Regions from separate parts of the Homo sapiens genome. Here regions 1, 2, 3 and 4 are each linked to region 5. Evidence: promoter capture Hi-C in 16 types of primary human blood cells and fetal thymus (Javierre and others, 2016). All regions are on one chromosome and are shown on one strand. The core of a region is centred on a gene start or on the middle of the fragment in contact, and the rest is flanking DNA. Distances in the headings are between cores, read along the strand shown.

What was found. The method cuts DNA at HindIII sites, captures the fragments that hold promoters and counts their contacts. A CHiCAGO score of 5 or more calls a contact.
Region 1: a fragment that was not itself captured here is called in contact with the fragment with the promoter of SCLY in region 5 in 5 of 17 cell types (non-activated CD4 T cells, activated CD4 T cells, erythroblasts and 2 more); the score reaches 6.2 in non-activated CD4 T cells.
Region 2: a contact is called between a fragment that was not itself captured here and the fragment with the promoter of SCLY in region 5, in 1 of 17 cell types (neutrophils). The highest score is 5.4, in neutrophils.
Region 3: a contact is called between a fragment that was not itself captured here and the fragment with the promoter of SCLY in region 5, in 1 of 17 cell types (total CD4 T cells). The highest score is 5.2, in total CD4 T cells.
Region 4: a fragment that was not itself captured here is called in contact with the fragment with the promoter of SCLY in region 5 in 6 of 17 cell types (activated CD4 T cells, M2 macrophages, non-activated CD4 T cells and 3 more); the score reaches 7.2 in activated CD4 T cells.

The regions. Positions count from the first base shown.
Region 1 is chr2:237,919,308-237,922,437 of GRCh38, reverse strand. No RefSeq gene overlaps it. Among named protein-coding and RNA genes, the nearest start is that of UBE2F-SCLY, 46 kb to the left of the region's middle. The HindIII fragment of the contact is 7,029 bases long and covers 1-3,130 here.
Region 2 is chr2:238,244,210-238,247,154 of GRCh38, reverse strand. It overlaps PER2 (period circadian regulator 2), which reads left to right. Exons shown (of 23, transcript NM_022817.3): 23 at 631-2,945. The coding sequence ends at 780. Among named protein-coding and RNA genes, the nearest start is that of HES6, 5.6 kb to the right of the region's middle. RefSeq lists an enhancer at 1-1,007. The HindIII fragment of the contact is 6,913 bases long and covers 1-2,945 here.
Region 3 is chr2:237,832,598-237,835,676 of GRCh38, reverse strand. RBM44 (RNA binding motif protein 44) reads right to left here. Exons shown (of 16, transcript NM_001080504.3): 14 at 1,535-1,680; 15 at 1,254-1,399. The coding sequence ends at 1,276. Among named protein-coding and RNA genes, the nearest start is that of RAMP1, 25 kb to the left of the region's middle. The HindIII fragment of the contact is 2,460 bases long and covers 281-2,740 here.
Region 4 is chr2:238,196,507-238,199,302 of GRCh38, reverse strand. All of the region lies in intron 1 of ILKAP (ILK associated serine/threonine phosphatase), which reads left to right. Among named protein-coding and RNA genes, the nearest start is that of ILKAP, 5.8 kb to the left of the region's middle. The HindIII fragment of the contact is 2,578 bases long and covers 83-2,660 here.
Region 5 is chr2:238,059,410-238,062,415 of GRCh38, reverse strand. SCLY (selenocysteine lyase) reads right to left here and starts at 1,415. Exons shown (of 12, transcript NM_016510.7): 1 at 1,273-1,415. The coding sequence starts at 1,361. The region is part of intron 8 of UBE2F-SCLY (UBE2F-SCLY readthrough (NMD candidate)); the gene reads right to left. RefSeq lists silencers at 1,206-1,655, 1,796-2,005. The HindIII fragment of the contact is 10,603 bases long and covers 1-3,006 here.

The DNA of each region.
Region 1 (3,130 bases), core at 477-2,976, 140 kb after region 5:
GGCCTTTCTGTTCCTCCATTGCTTTCTCCGGCCTGGCCCGCTGTGTGAGGCTGGCCGGCAGACATCTGTCTCTCTCTCAATTTTAAAAAATTTTTTTAGTAGGGACAGGATCTCACTGTGTTGCCCAGGCTGATCTCAAACTCCTGGCCTCAGGCGATCTGCCCACTTCGACCTCCCAAAGTGCTGGGATTGCAGGGGTGGCATCTGTTGGCCTCAGGAAGCAGGCCCAGGCTGCACTCCTGCCCTTGTCCCCCACCTTCCCCGGCAGGCTGGTTTGGCGGTCCTGCCCTCTCCACCCCCACTCTCCCCCATGGGGGAACACAGGCATCAGTGGAGAGTTGCCCATTTTTCAGAAGCGGGATGACAAGCCCCTGCTGCCTTTCACCAATGCCCGTGAATGCACCTGCTTGGGAATCCTCTTTGGAATCTCCCTGAGGTCTTCTGCCCCTCCCCGTGTCTCCCTCATTAAACCACATTTTCCCACAATGAGAACGTGCCATGATGTGCGTTGATGCAAAGCAGGTCTTTATTCAATCTTGTGATGTTTCCGTAGCCAATGCCTTACTGCAGTGCCGTTTTCCATGACTTTTCACGTGAATTACAACACTTTAATTCCATTCCAGCTTAAATTGGCTGTGTTGGGTCAGGTAGAAAAGCCCACTGCCCTGGGTGACACTTTTATGGTTGGGGAAGTGGCTCTTGTCCTGGCTGAGTTGTGTCCTTGCCTCAGAATGTGACTTCACATCTTGAAGTCCTAACCAGCAGTACCTCAGAATGTGACTGGGTTTGGACCCAGGGTCTTTACAGAGGTGACTAAGGTTAAATGAGGTCACTGGGTGGGCCCTAACCCAATGTGACTGTGCCCTTATAAGAAGAGAAGATTAGGGCCAGGTGCAGTGGCTCATGCCTGTAATCCCAGCACTTTGGGAGGCCAATATGGGTGGATCACCTGAGGTCAAGGGTTCAAGACCAGCCTGGCCAACATGGTGAAACCCCATCTCTATTAAAAATACAAAAATTAGTCAAGCGTGGTGGCACACACCTGTAATCCCAGCTACTTGGGAGGCTGAGGTGGGAGAATTGCTTGAACCCGGGAGGTGGGGGCTGCAGCGAGCGGAGATTGCGCCACTGCACTCCAGCCTAGGTGACTGGGCGAGACCCTGTCTCAAAAGAAAAAAAAAAGATTAGGATGCAGGCACAGAAAGACGACCATATGAGGCAGGGAGGAAATGACAAGCCAAGAAGAGAGGCATCAGAAGGAACCAACCCTGCCGACCCCTTGATCTCAGGCTTCCAGCCTCCACAGCTGCGAGAAACGCACTTCTGTTGTTTAAGTCCCCAGCCTGTTATAGCAGCAGCTTGGGCAGACTCCGACTGCACTGCTTTATCCTCAGCCGAGCCCGAGGAGGAGGAGACAATCCCCAAACTCGATCGTTTCCTATCATTATGATCACCGATTATTCTCCTTTTGACTCACCCGACCTTCTGTGCAGAAGGGCTGGGAACACTGAGAGACGGGAGCATTTACCCACATGTGTTCACGTGCACGTGCAGCCACAGCTCCCAGCCCTGCTGTGAAAGTGAATCACTATGGCCCCGGTTAGCAGCGTTTGCCATGTGCCTGCCACATGGCCAAGGGCTGTCTTCACTGTGAGTCCCTGAAGTGTCCATGGCCAGCACTCTGCAGGCGATGACACTGAAGCCCAGAGGGTTGAGGAGCTTGCCTCGCCTTTCTTCCTTCCTTTCTTTTTTTTTTTTTTTGACATGGGGTCTTATTCTGTCACCCAGGCTGGAGTGCAGTGGTGTGATCATGGCTTACTGCCTCCCCAGCCCAAGCGATCCTCCCCCACAGCCTCCTGAGTAGCTGGGACTACAGGCACATGCCACCACACCCAGCTAATTTTTTAAATTTTTTTGTAGAGATGAGGTCTCACTATGTTGCCTAGGCTGGTCTCAAACTCCTGGGCTCAAGTGATCCTCCAGCCTCAGCCTCAGCCTCCCAAAGTGCTGGGATGACAGGCGTGAGCCACTGTGCCCAGCCTGCCTCACCATTTTTAATCGGCACAGCCAGGATTTGGTTTCAACTAAGGCAGCTTGGTGCCATCACTTCTATGCTACAACTTTTAAAAATATTGTTTTTTAAAACATTTTATTTACATTATATACTTTCACACCTATGACCATCTGAAACTTTTTTTTTGAGATGGGGTCTTGCTCCGTCACCCACACTGGAGTGCGGTGGCATGATTTTGGCTTGCTGCAGCCTCCCACCTCCAGGCTTAAGTGATCCTCCCACCTCAGCCTCCAGAGTAGCTGGGACCACAGGTGTGCGCCACCATACCTGGTTAAGTTTTTGTATTTTTGGTAGAGATGGGGTTTCGTCGTGTTGCCCAGCCTGGTCTCGAACTCCTGAGCTCAAGCAATCTGCTCTCCTCAGCCTCCCAAAGTACTGGGATTACAAGTGGGAGCCATTGCACCCGGCCTGACCATTTGAAACATTTTAAAGGTGGCACTGCTTCTTGTAAGAAGAGATCTTAGGTGGCAGGGGCAGGGCTGGGATGTAGGTGCTCTCATGGCAGGATGCACTGGGGATGGAAAGCAGCTGCCACCTGTCATGGACATGCACCTCCAGTCACCCCTGTCTGCCTCCCGCCCTGCCCCCAGAAAACAGGAAGCAAACTTCCCCGGCCTCCTGTCAGAGTGTCTGTGGGGAAGCGATTCACGTGGGGGCATGAGCACTGTCCCCAGGCCCAAGGATTGTGGCTGGGGTGGGGCAGAGAGGGATGCTTTGGAGGGCTGCTCTCTTCCCGCTGTTCCTCTGCACCCCCTTCACATTTTTGTAACCCAAATAAAGATGGGCACCCATGGTCCACCTCCGCACAGGCCCAGGAAGAAAAAAAACAAAGTCAGATCCAAGTTCACTTCCTAAAATAGCCTTGAAAAGCAATTTAGGTCCTTCTTAAATTTGTTCTAGGGGGAACCAAAGTGCAATTATGTTCACAATCTAGAGAAAAATGTCTTGAAACCTCTTTCCTCTCCCGTTCTCAAGGCTCCCAGCCTACATCTGCTCTCTTCTTGCCCATTCTCATCCCTGTCCCCAAAAAATACGGGTCCTCTGGCAGGTGGCCTG
Region 2 (2,945 bases), core at 124-2,623, 180 kb before region 5:
GAATTAGGCCCCACCTTTTGAGGAAGGAGTGGCAAAGAGTGTGGACACGTTTCAAAATCATTGCGTCACCTTTTCTTTGGCCTGCTGTGAATGTCCAGTTGAAAATCACAGATGTCCTCTATATACCCTATGCCTCTGGAGCCCTTCTTAGTTATTGTCTCTCTCTGCTACTAGAGTGCCAGCTCCTGGGACAGGGATTTTGGCCTTTGCTGCCAGCCACCTCCTGGCTGACACCTGGTCACCTGCACCTTACTCAGTTTGAATGACTTTTTATCTTTTGAGACAGAGTCTCACTCTGTCGCCCAGGCTGGAGCACAGTAGCGTGATCTCCGCTCACTGCAAGCTCTGCCTCCAGGGTTCAAGCGATTCTTCTGCCTCAGCCTCCCAAGTAGCTGGGACTACAGGTGCCTGCCACCACGCCCAGCTAATTTTTTGTATTATTAGTAGAGATGGGATTTCACCGTGTTAGCCAGGAAGGTCTCGATCTCCTGACGTCGTGATCTGCCCGCCTCGGCCTCCCAAAGTGCTGGGATTACAGGCGTGAGCCACCGCGCCCGGCCAATTTGAATGACTTTTGTAACAACTCAGATCTCAAGTTTGTTACTGATTTCTCTTTTTTTTTCTTTTAAGGAATGTGTTTACTGTGAAAACAAGGAAAAAGGTAATATTTGCATACCATATGAGGAAGATATTCCTTCTCTGGGACTCAGCGAAGTGTCGGACACCAAAGAAGACGAAAATGGATCCCCCTTGAATCACAGGATCGAAGAGCAGACGTAACCCCTGCCCCACCTCAGCCCGGCAGCCAGCGAGGTACACCAGGTGGTGCTTGGAAGAGATGAAAGATCTTCATGGCTGTTTCCACTGAAATGGACACATATGCTCATGTTGCTTTTTTTGTTTTAGAAAAAAAAACAACATAGTTTTCTGAAGGGGCGACTTAAAACTGTGGAGAGTGGGGAGAGTTCGGAAAGAAATATGTTTTTATATATAAAATATATATGTGGAGTTTTGTGGGATGGGGAAGAGATTTTAGTTGTTATTTAACTTGAGAAAGACTAAGCGCCTCTTAGTGTCAGGGAAGTTGCCTCAGTGCTCCCAGAAGTCCTGTGACTGTGACGAGACCTCTGTCTGCTGCACCAGCTGGGGACTCTGGCTTCCAGAGCTTTCCCAGGGTGTTTGGATCAGATCAAATTTTGTCCTCTCTTGGGGACTGCTTTTTATCTGAATTATCATTTAGTCAAGGTAGAGTGTTTTTTTATACATACCAAATGGAGATAGCAGCCTCTCCTAGTTTTATTTCAAAACGTTTCACATTAAATGGTGTGAAGCGTTGTTTGGCAAACCAACAGCTTTGGCTTCTGGTGTGGTCAATATTTCAGTCTGACATAGGTTTTGTTTGTAGTGAACAAAGTTGAAACATTTGCTCTGGACTAAAGAAGCCTAGTGGTTTGTGTGGCCAACTCCATCGGATGAATGCACACGCAGACAGACCCTCTGTATATTTCTGCATTATTCTTGTCTCCTTTTCAGACCATGATGGCCAATATGGAGATTAAAATATGTCATCAGTCATCTCTTTATGGTGACTTCCCTTTGCAAACCAGGCTGTGACCAACACATGTGAGACCCAGTCCTGTTTGGTTTTCTTCCGTTGGAACCACCCAGACATCTGCTTCCACCCAGCCAAGCCCACATCACATCTCCTGGCCGAGAGCAGCCACTGCCACTCAGTCTGACAGCTTGCGACTGCATCTGTATTTTCAGGGGTGCAGTGAGCTCACCTCTCCCACTGCACCCTGGGTTGGGTGCACAGCCCTCATTCTTTTCATGAGCCCGACCTCTCTCGGAGCAGCTTCAGGCCTCTGCCAGTGTCCCCAGCACTTTTAGGTCATTTGGACACTTGGGGAAAAGTGAGGCCAGTCTGCCCGGCTTTTTACAAAACCTCATGTTGCATTGTATATTCCAAAGATGGTTCAGAAAATTTAATATTGGTCCCTGGTGGAAATTCAAAGTTATCACTGAAGAACAGTTGACTTAAAATTGGACCAAGACTATGAGGCTTAAAAGGGACCAGGGTTTTCTTTTTTTTTTTTTTTTTTTTTTTTTTTTAGATGGAGTTTCTTTTTGCCCAGGCTGGAGTGCAGTGGCGCCATCTTGGCTCACTGCAACCTCTGCCTCCCAGGTTCAAGCGATTCTCCTGCCTCAGCCTCCTGAGTAGCTGGGACCACAGGCGACTGCCACCACACCCAGCTAATTTTTTGTATTTTTAGTAGAGACAGGGTTTCACCATGTTGGCCAGGCTGGTCTCGAACTCCTGACCTCAAGCGATCCACCCACCTCGGCCTCCCAAAGTGCTGGGATTACAGGCGTGAGCCACCACGCCCAACTGGGACCAGGGTTTTCTGTTTTTTGATGGAGGTGAAATCTCTTTGTAATCCACTAGGTTTTCATCGTAAAACCATCTTATGCCTGACTATTAAACCTATTCTTCATAAACACAAGAACACTTTAATTTTTCGTTAATTTACAAAGTAACATCAGCTGCCTATGCCTATGATAAGGTAGCAGTCTGCATTCTTATGGCCATTAGATGTTACAAACTCCTTGCCTCTAAAGTCAGATCATGAAGGGATAGGTGTTCATCTAAGGTTACAGTTATGTTACCGAAACACAAAACTGCCAAAATCTTACTCTGCTGTTATGAATGTTTACCATCAGCATTATTTTATCATTTAATATGTGCTCACTGATTGTTAACTGTAGCTTCAGCGCGTGCCAAGCAGTTGACTTAATAGGATCATCTTGTGAATTTGTTTACGTGATGCCAAGCATCAAGTCATGTTTTCTTTAGTGTGTGTGCTTACACAGGTGTTAAACAGTTTTTCTCTATTTTAAACTGAGCCTTCTTTTTAATATATTCCCGAAGAGATATGTAAATAAGC
Region 3 (3,079 bases), core at 261-2,760, 230 kb after region 5:
TTCAAATAATGGAAAAGAGGTCCTTGCTCTGAATTAGGCTTTGGCTTAAGGCAATGTTGTGGCTGCTATGATCTTCTACACAGACTACTAAAATTTTCACCATATCAGCAATAAGGTTGTTTCACTTTGTTATCATTCTCCTGTCCACTGGAGTAGCACTTGTAATCCCATCAATAACTTTTCCTCATTGGCTTCACGACAATGAACCACGTGGCTAACTGGTACAAAAGGCCCAGTTTTCAGCCTATCTTGGCTTTTGACATGCCTTCCTCACTAAGCTTAATCATTTCTAGCTTTCGACTTAAAGTGAGCTCTTTCTTTTAAGAGTCATTTAATGTGACTCTTTCTTTCCCTGGAATACTTACAGGCCATTGTAGGATTATCAGTTGGCCTAATTTCAATATAGTGTCTCAAGGAATAGGGAAGACCAAAGAGAGGGAAAGAGATGGGGAAACAGCCAGTGAGTGGAGTCGTCAGAACACACACATTTATAAAATTTGCTGTTTTATATGGGTGCAGTTCAAAGTGCCCCAAAATAATTACAATAGTAACAAAGATCACTGATCACAATCACCATACAGGCGTCACAAAAAAGTTTGAAATGTTGTATGAATTACCAAAATGTGACACAGACACAAAGTGGGTAAACATTGTTGGAAAAATGGCGCTGATAGACTTGCTTGATGCAGGGTTGCCACAAACCTTCGGTATGTAAAAATTGCAGTATCTGCGACTACTGAGGGTAGATAATACAAGACAATGCAGCTTCCATCTTGCTCTCTCTCTCTCTTGCTTAGGGGAAGCCAGCTGCCATGATGCAAAGACATTTGAAGAGCCTTATGGAAGAGCCTATGTGGTGAGGAACTGAGGCCTCTTGCCAACAGACATGTGAATGAGCCCCCTGAGAAGCAGATCCTCTGGTCTCAGGGAAGCCTCTGAATGACTACAGTCCAGGCCAACATCTTGACTGCAACATGAAAAACCCTGAGCTAAAACTACCCGGCTAAGTCACTCCTGAATCCTGATCTGCAAACTGTGAGTTTATGAGTGTTGTTTAAGCCAGTCAATTTTAGGGTAATTAGTTTTGCCTTAGTAGTTAACTAATTACAGTATGCTTGTTTTAAAATTTCATATTATTTTGTGATTATATTATTATTTTAAATTTAATATGTTTTTTATGTAAAAAGAAAATGAAATCAATAGCTTATAAATTTTAAGTAATATTCAAATACAAAAGAATATGATTACTTTACCTCTTTATTGTTTTTTGAATTCCTAACTGGAAGCAGAGTTTTTCAGAAGAGATGAAGTCATCTCCACAATAGTAGTAATAGATAAGCCATTCAGAAAACCTTTATGTCTTATTCTCACTTCCTGAAGTGCATTTATAATATGGTCTCTATGAAAAAGGAAAACATACATGAGTATTTGTCTTTTCCAAAGGAATACATTCTGAATATATCTAAGTTATTAACTTGAACTATATTTTTACACAGAAGTTTTAAAGCAGTTAAAATATAATTTTGGTTATTACCTGCTGACTTCTGGATGCAGTTCAGCCAGTCTCTTTATGATCTTGGTAAAGCTACGAAGGTTCAATGTATTTGGAGGTATGAATTGAACGGGTGTATCAGGTAATAATTTAGCAGATTCAATCTGCTTACAATTCTTCTTGACACCCTAAATAAGCATTTAAAAAGTTTTCTTAAAATCAGTAAGGACCATTACATAAAGATAATACCGCTTATTCAACAATAATATATTTGAAAATTAAAATAATAAAATAAAAATTCCTTAAAAATTTACTTTAACTTGGGATTGTTTATACCAATTGCATTTACTTGAGCTGTGTTTCAGGGCCATGTAGTACAAAACATACCCAACATTTTTTCTTACTGATAAACTATAGGAGGCTATGTCTAAATAAGGCTTTCTCAACCAGATTCCTCATCTGAACCATAGAACACAGAAAATGATGTAACTACTTTCTCAATTCTCTCAAAGATAGGACATAACTAGTTTCATTTTGGATGCACAGGAGAGAGATTCATTCATTAAATAAATGTTTTAGGCTTAGGGCATTAAGGCTTAATTCTCTTAACCAACCTAAGAAAGGCTACACAGTAATTAGAGATATTTTACATTGTATTTACTATATGCTGTATGTAATGAATACAAATTGTATGCCCAGAAGTGCACTATATGCTGTGGGGGAAAAACTATAGTGACATAAAACAGAACCCTCTATTGCGAAGAGACAAAATTAAAATGACCAATTAGTTACTGTTAACACTGCAAGTAGGCTATAAATTGTAGAAAACCACTGTAAATCCCATAAAAGTTCAACAAAGGAAGGACTCAGACTTTAAAGCCTCGATGAAAAGTCAGGGCAAGACACATGATATACTGGACCTTTCACATCAGAACATTGTATCTTTCACTTGCTTGTTTATTGCCTTATCTCCCTCACTAGATTTTAGCTCCTTAAGAGTACAGATTTTTGTCTCTTTTGTTCATTGTTGCTTTCCCAGTGCCTAGAATAGTGTACACAGTTGGTATGTAATAACTATTTGTTTAATAAATAAAAAGTTTGGGATACAATAGTTTAAGTGACAGTTGAAGTTAAGTGCTCTCCAAGAAAGAAGCCAAATTATTGGTAAGTAATAACAACAACAGCTAATATTTTCTGGGTACATCTTCCATGGTAGGCACCGTTCTAAAAATTTTTCTGTATTAAGCTTATTTAAGCTCATCAACATTTGTGAGGTAATGGCTCTCATCTCCATTTTAAGATAAGGAAGCTCAGAAACGGAAAGGTTAGATTAGTTTTCCAGAGTCACATGGTGAGTAAGTGGCAGAGCCAGGTTATGAATCGAAGAGTTTTTATTAATCACCACGATTCTGCTTCTCATTGTAGACAATCAATATTTTCTAAATGAATAGAATAAATAATAATGTTGAGAATCAGAAAAAGAACAAGGGAACAAGAAATTGCCAGAAAGGAAAGAGAACTTGGAGTATAGTTTAACAAAGATGGTTACAGGAGCTTCCCTATCCACATACTCCTACCAACAGCCTG
Region 4 (2,796 bases), core at 122-2,621, 140 kb before region 5:
CAGTCTAGCAGATTAAGCAGGAATACATGTATCAGATTGTTGATTGTGGCGTCACTTATCATATGAAGAACTGGGAAAAGCTTGAACCCATCAGTAAGGATCTGGTCGAATGAGTGGAGATGCTTCCCATGTGTGGCTGTTGGAGAGGATGAATTAGACTTGGGTGTGTTGGCCTGGAGCATGCCTTGATGGGTTATGTGAACACTATATGTGGAGTATTGTGTAGAGTATGACTCTGTCTTCTACAAATTAAAATGCATGAGTCCATGTGCATGAGCATTAAGGAAAGTGGAAAGGATACACTAAACTCATACTGTGGTTGGGGGGTGTGGCGGAACCTGTCCCCCCTTTTTTCTGATAATACCTCTGTGGTGTTTGGAAAACACCTGGATTTATTTTATAGTTGAAAAAATTGAGGTATAAAAAACAATTTAGCCAAAATATTTTAACATCCTTTTTTAACTTTATTGGATACAGCAACCTTTAACCTGAATATGATCAACCCAAGGGTATTTTTCTCAGCATAGTATATAACTTCCAGTAGACTTAGCTCCAGAATGTAGATAACTGAGGAAAAAAAAAAGTTCTAGATGAGATTAACTATGATTAATGGACATTTTTAGTCTTGTATTCTTATTAGGGTTCTAATATTTTTAAGATTAGGGGAGGGGCCTCTTCCAGATTTTTAGGTCAGGGTCACACTTTGTCCAATGATTGCAGCCCCCAATGCTTTGAATTTCAGTTTATTCAAAATAGAATGTAAGGGCCTGGAGCAGTGGGTCACATCTGTAATCCCAGCACTTTGGGATGCTGAGGCAGGAAGATTGCTTGAGTACAGTAGTTCGTGACCAACCTGGGCAACATAGTGAGACCCCGTCTCTACAAAAAGTTAAAAAATTAGCTGGGCATGGTGGTGTATGCCTGTAGTTTCAGCTACTCGGGAATCTGACGAGGGAGGATTGCTTGAGCCCAGAAGGTTGGGGCTGCAGTGAGCTGTGATCACACCACTGCACTCCAACCTGGCTCACAGAGCGAGACTCTTGTCTCAATTTAAAAAAAAAAAAATCTAAGGTTTTGACTAATCAGTAGTTTCCTTATGTATCTATGACCTATAGATTTTTTTTTAAAGAATCCACATACAGACTTCTAAGTTAGATTCTTTTGATGATGCAAAAATTATTTCCAGAGATTTTATAAAATCTCAGGATTATCATCATAGGATTGTTGTAAGGGTAAAATGAGTTGATGTTTATGAAGTTTCTGGAAGGGTGCCCATGTATGGAGGCAGCATAGTACCTCACTAAAAGCACGGACTGCATGGCTTTGAATCCCCACTCCACTCCTTACTGGCTCTGTGATCTTGAACAGGTAATTGACCTCAGTGCCTCAGTTTTTTCATCGGTAAATAATAATAGTACCTATCTCATAAGAATTAAATGAGAAGATGTGTGGAGCTCTTAGAATAGTGCCTGACAGGCAGGCAGTATTATCATTTTTAGAAGCCATTCCCAGTTGTGGCCAGCAAAATGTAGGATGGTCTCATTGTGTTTAATTGAAATACCTCTCATAGTATTCCAGAGTGAGAAAGAAGGTGATAGGCAGTTCTCTGGGGATGGGGCTCAGTTTGGGGCACCATCTGACTGAATTGTAGCCAGAGGAGAGGCGGCCAGGCTAGTATTAATACTAAGCTGTAAGTTGCATTGTGAGGAATGCTTACAAGAACTGAAAATATATTTATTACCTGGGTAAAAGAAGACTTCCTCCCTTGTACAGTGGCAGTGGAAAGACCTGATTTAGATGGGCAAGTTAATTCAAAAGTTAAAATATGACCTGGTACAAGCGGAAGGGTTGTTTGCTCTTCATGTTGGGCTGTTACCTGTAAATGTCCCCTCCCTTGTCCTAAGACATCTGGCTCTGTGACACCACTGAATGCAGCGTGATTGTCTGGAACATCTCATGTGGTTTTTGAGTCTGTCCGGAGAACGGGCGTTGTGATTGTTAGACCCAATGTTTGGGCAAAAGTGACCTACTTCGGGATATTAGGAATTCTTGTAAGTGGATTAATACATTGAGTAATGGTTATCCTAAATACTTTTTTTGGGTGCTGGGGACAGAGTCTGGTTTTGTCCCCCAGGCTGGAGTGCAGTGGCGCTATCTCAGCTCACCGCAACCTCCGCCTCCCAGGTTCAAGCAGTTTTCCTGCTTCAGCCTCCCAAGTAGCTGGGGCTACAGGCACCCGCCACCATGCCTAGCTAATTTTTGTATTTCTGGAGAGACAGGGTTTCACCATGTTGGTCAGGCTCATCTTGAACTGCTGACCTCAGTCCTGACCTTGACCTCCCAAAGTGCTGGGATTATAGGTGTGAGCCACCACACCTGGCCATACTAAATACTTTTTAATGGCTTTCTTCTGCTTCTTGTATACTTCTAATAGAGTCTTTATGTCACTTGTAAGAAAAGTGAAAGTATTTGCAATTCCTTAATTTGTTTAGGGTCATCCTGAAGGATTAGAATACATTTTCCCATTTGTATTAGGGATATAAAGCAAAATAGTTATTTTTTGTTAACTCAGGAATTTCTTGTGTATTTTAGGTACTTCTGACGCAAAGACCCCGGGAGAAATTTCATTCCCTTAAGTTTATAAATTTTTAATTAAAGCTTTTGTTTTTAAAAGAAGAAAGTTGATACCCAGCTCATTTCTAAATGGAGGCAAAAAGATGATAGGGATGACCCTCTTGGGGGATATAAATTTATTTGTTTAGTTGAATTGGTGTTTGGCCTGGCACAATAGCTCAT
Region 5 (3,006 bases), core at 166-2,665:
AAAAAAAAATCACTCAATAGGTACAAGGCTTTGACAAGTTTGACTCGCCATCCTTTACCACTCTGGTACTAGTATTAATAGTCCTAGGAATCCCCCAGCCCGGCTTGACTTTGCATGTGCCCTTATATCTGTTTTTCTTTCCTATAAATAAGCATCCAAAGTACCTTAGGCTAGCTAGTGTTTGTTGAGCGACTGTAGCTCTTCAATCTGCTGCTGGGCTGAACAAATCTATTTTGTTCAGATTAATACTTTACACATTCCTTTGCTTCATTATTTGCTGCTTCCTTAAAATGCTATCAGTATTGGATGAGCAGGCTCAACTTTGTTAGCTTCATAACCAAAAAATAAAAAATCTTGGGAATCTCGCTCCACTGATTCCCTAGGGGATATTTTCCCAGATCCCTTCACTTTGTTCCAACCAAGGTAGAATGCCAAATGTGTGTGCTTTAGGCCTGGACCCCCTCATATTCTAAGCATGGGTAGCGAATGAGCTCACAAAAAGGAAAAAGAGGGGTCTGGAAAGAAGACACACAAACCAGAAAATGCATACCCCTGCCTCCTGCTCTTCTCGGACTTAACTAGTATGGATACCACGTGCTTCGGGTCTCCGCGCTTCTCAGCGGTGGCCATCCCGTTTCCTGCAGCTGGGCCAGCAGTCTGGGAGAACCCTTGATTCCCTTTCACCTGCCCCAGTGCACCAGCTTCCTACCAACGCATCCGTTTCTGGGCGCACACCACATCTCTCTCCTAGGTTGTTACAAGATCCCCAACTGGCTTCCCGGCTTCCTCTCGTCCCATGCCTACCCGCGCCCCTACTTTCTAGGAAGCAGCCAGAAGGACTCCTTCAAAACACTTAAATTGCATCGCCCCGTGATCAACTTCCGAGGCCCCATAAGGCTCCGAATGAACCCCAAAGTTCTTCCCGGGCTCAGGGGCTCTGCCGGTTCACCTCCGGCAAGTCCCCTGCCCTTCGCATCTGCTGTGCCCTCTTCCTGGCAGGCTCTGCTTCCCCAGAACCTGCAAACCTCACCCCTGGAAGTCACTCGGGTTTCGGCCCCAAAGTCACCTCTCCGTGGGCCCTTGCGGGGCCACAGCTCGCACCCGCTCCTCCTTGAAGCTCGCATCCCTGACTTAGGCCGACCTCGCGGACATCCCCGCGCGGGACGCCCCACGCGAGAGCGGCCACAGGCCGGGAGCCCCCTTCGTCCTCCCGCGCGGGACAATCGGCGACAGGCGCCGGCCGCTCCCCAGCCCTGCCCTAAAGGCGCGCACCTCTCCGGCGAGTTGTGTTTCCCGCAGCCGCTGGGCTGACTCGCCGCGGGTGCCGGCGCATCCCTCCCCGGCGCCACGGCCGCCTCCATCCCCGCCCCACTGCTGCCGGGCATCCAGCCTCCTTCCCGCGGAGCGCTACGGGCCCAGAGCGCCGGGGAGGAGGCGGGGCCGCGACGCCCGGGCGCGTCCGGATTGGCTGAGCGAAGCACCCCAGCCAATCCACCCGCTTCAGAGGGCCGCCGAGCCCCCAGCGGGGAGGCGAGGCTGCGCTGGGTCAGGTGACGGGTGGGGGCGGGGCTTAGCGCGTCACAGAGCTTCCCGGGAACCGGGCGCTAGAAGCCGCGTCTCCTGGGCCGGCGGATCCCCGCACTTTCACTTCCGGGGGAGCCCCGTGACCTTTGCTGTCTGCGGCAGGGCCGCCATCGGGCCGCGGCCGGTTAGTCGGCGTAAGAGCAGGCGGGGCCCGAGCTGGACCTGAGGAGCAGAGGCGGCTGGGCAGTCCTGCGGGTGCCTCCCTCTAGCCGCATGAGCGCGGGACCGTGCACTCCGGGAGAGCCGGGGCCGCGCGGCCTTGTTCCCCGCGAACCCTCGAGGGGAAGTGCCGGGGCCGCGGCAGCAGGGCCAGGGCCCCGGGGGTCTCCCGCAGGCCACCCTGGACAGTGATGAGCAGGTCCGCTGGACCTGCGCGTCCGTTAGTCGGAGCGGCTCCATAGGGGACCTGGATGGCGTGAAGTTAAGAGTCACGCATCGAGGATGGACTTGAGGGGATCTGGAGTAGAGGATGGGAGGGCATTGAGAAAATAGGGCCAGAGATGAGGGACTCTAAGTGGGCGTGGAAACGCAGGAAAGATTAATTCAAGATCTGTTTAGGCCGTTAAATAGGAATTGGGGCATGAGGGACAGGAAGGAAGCAAGGATTAGACAAGTGACTGGGAAGATGTTAGTGCCTTTATCTGGGTAAGAGGGAAGACGGGAGGGGGAAAGATGATGGGTTTAGCTTTGGACATGTTGAGTTGTCTGTGAGACAGTCACAAGTGTAAACATCCACCAATGGTTGGTGTCCCGCCAACCATTAAGAAAAGTCAGTTGAGAAAGTGGTAGAAATGAGCAAAAATCCTCACGAAGCCATCCTACCGTCACTTTTTTTGTTGTTTTTTGTTTTTTTGGCATAATAGTGTCTACCTTTAATTGAGCCTTGAACTATGCCAGGCAGTGTTCTAGGTATTTTTCGTGTGTTCACTAATTTAATCTTGATGATTAACCCAGTCTGGTAGGTATTTATGTATGAGGAATCCAAGATACAGAAAGGCATCTTGCCCAAGTTCACACGAGTAGTGGCTGGAGCCAAAATTCGGTTTCAAGCATGCTTTGCCAAGAGGTTGAATTTTAATTGGCTTTTCATGGGCTTTCTCTATTTTGTGTCCTGTTGGGGTCCAGAATAACTTGGCTTTTCCAGCACAGCAAATCTGCAAATTTCTGGACTCATTCTCTCTCATTCTTCCCTATAAACGCAGCTCATTTCTTGCCAAATGCAGCCAATAGCAAAGGGCCCACCAACATTTAAGAAGCAAATGGATGCACAGGAGCATGAGAACAGTCAAAAGAGGAGGAAAGGAAAGGGAATTGAGAAGGAATGTCAAAAAAGTCAAGAAGACACATAATAGTGTAAAGTGTGGCTGAGAGGCAATCCGAAGTCTACTGTGCGTAACAATTAGGAGGCACTGATAAACTAGC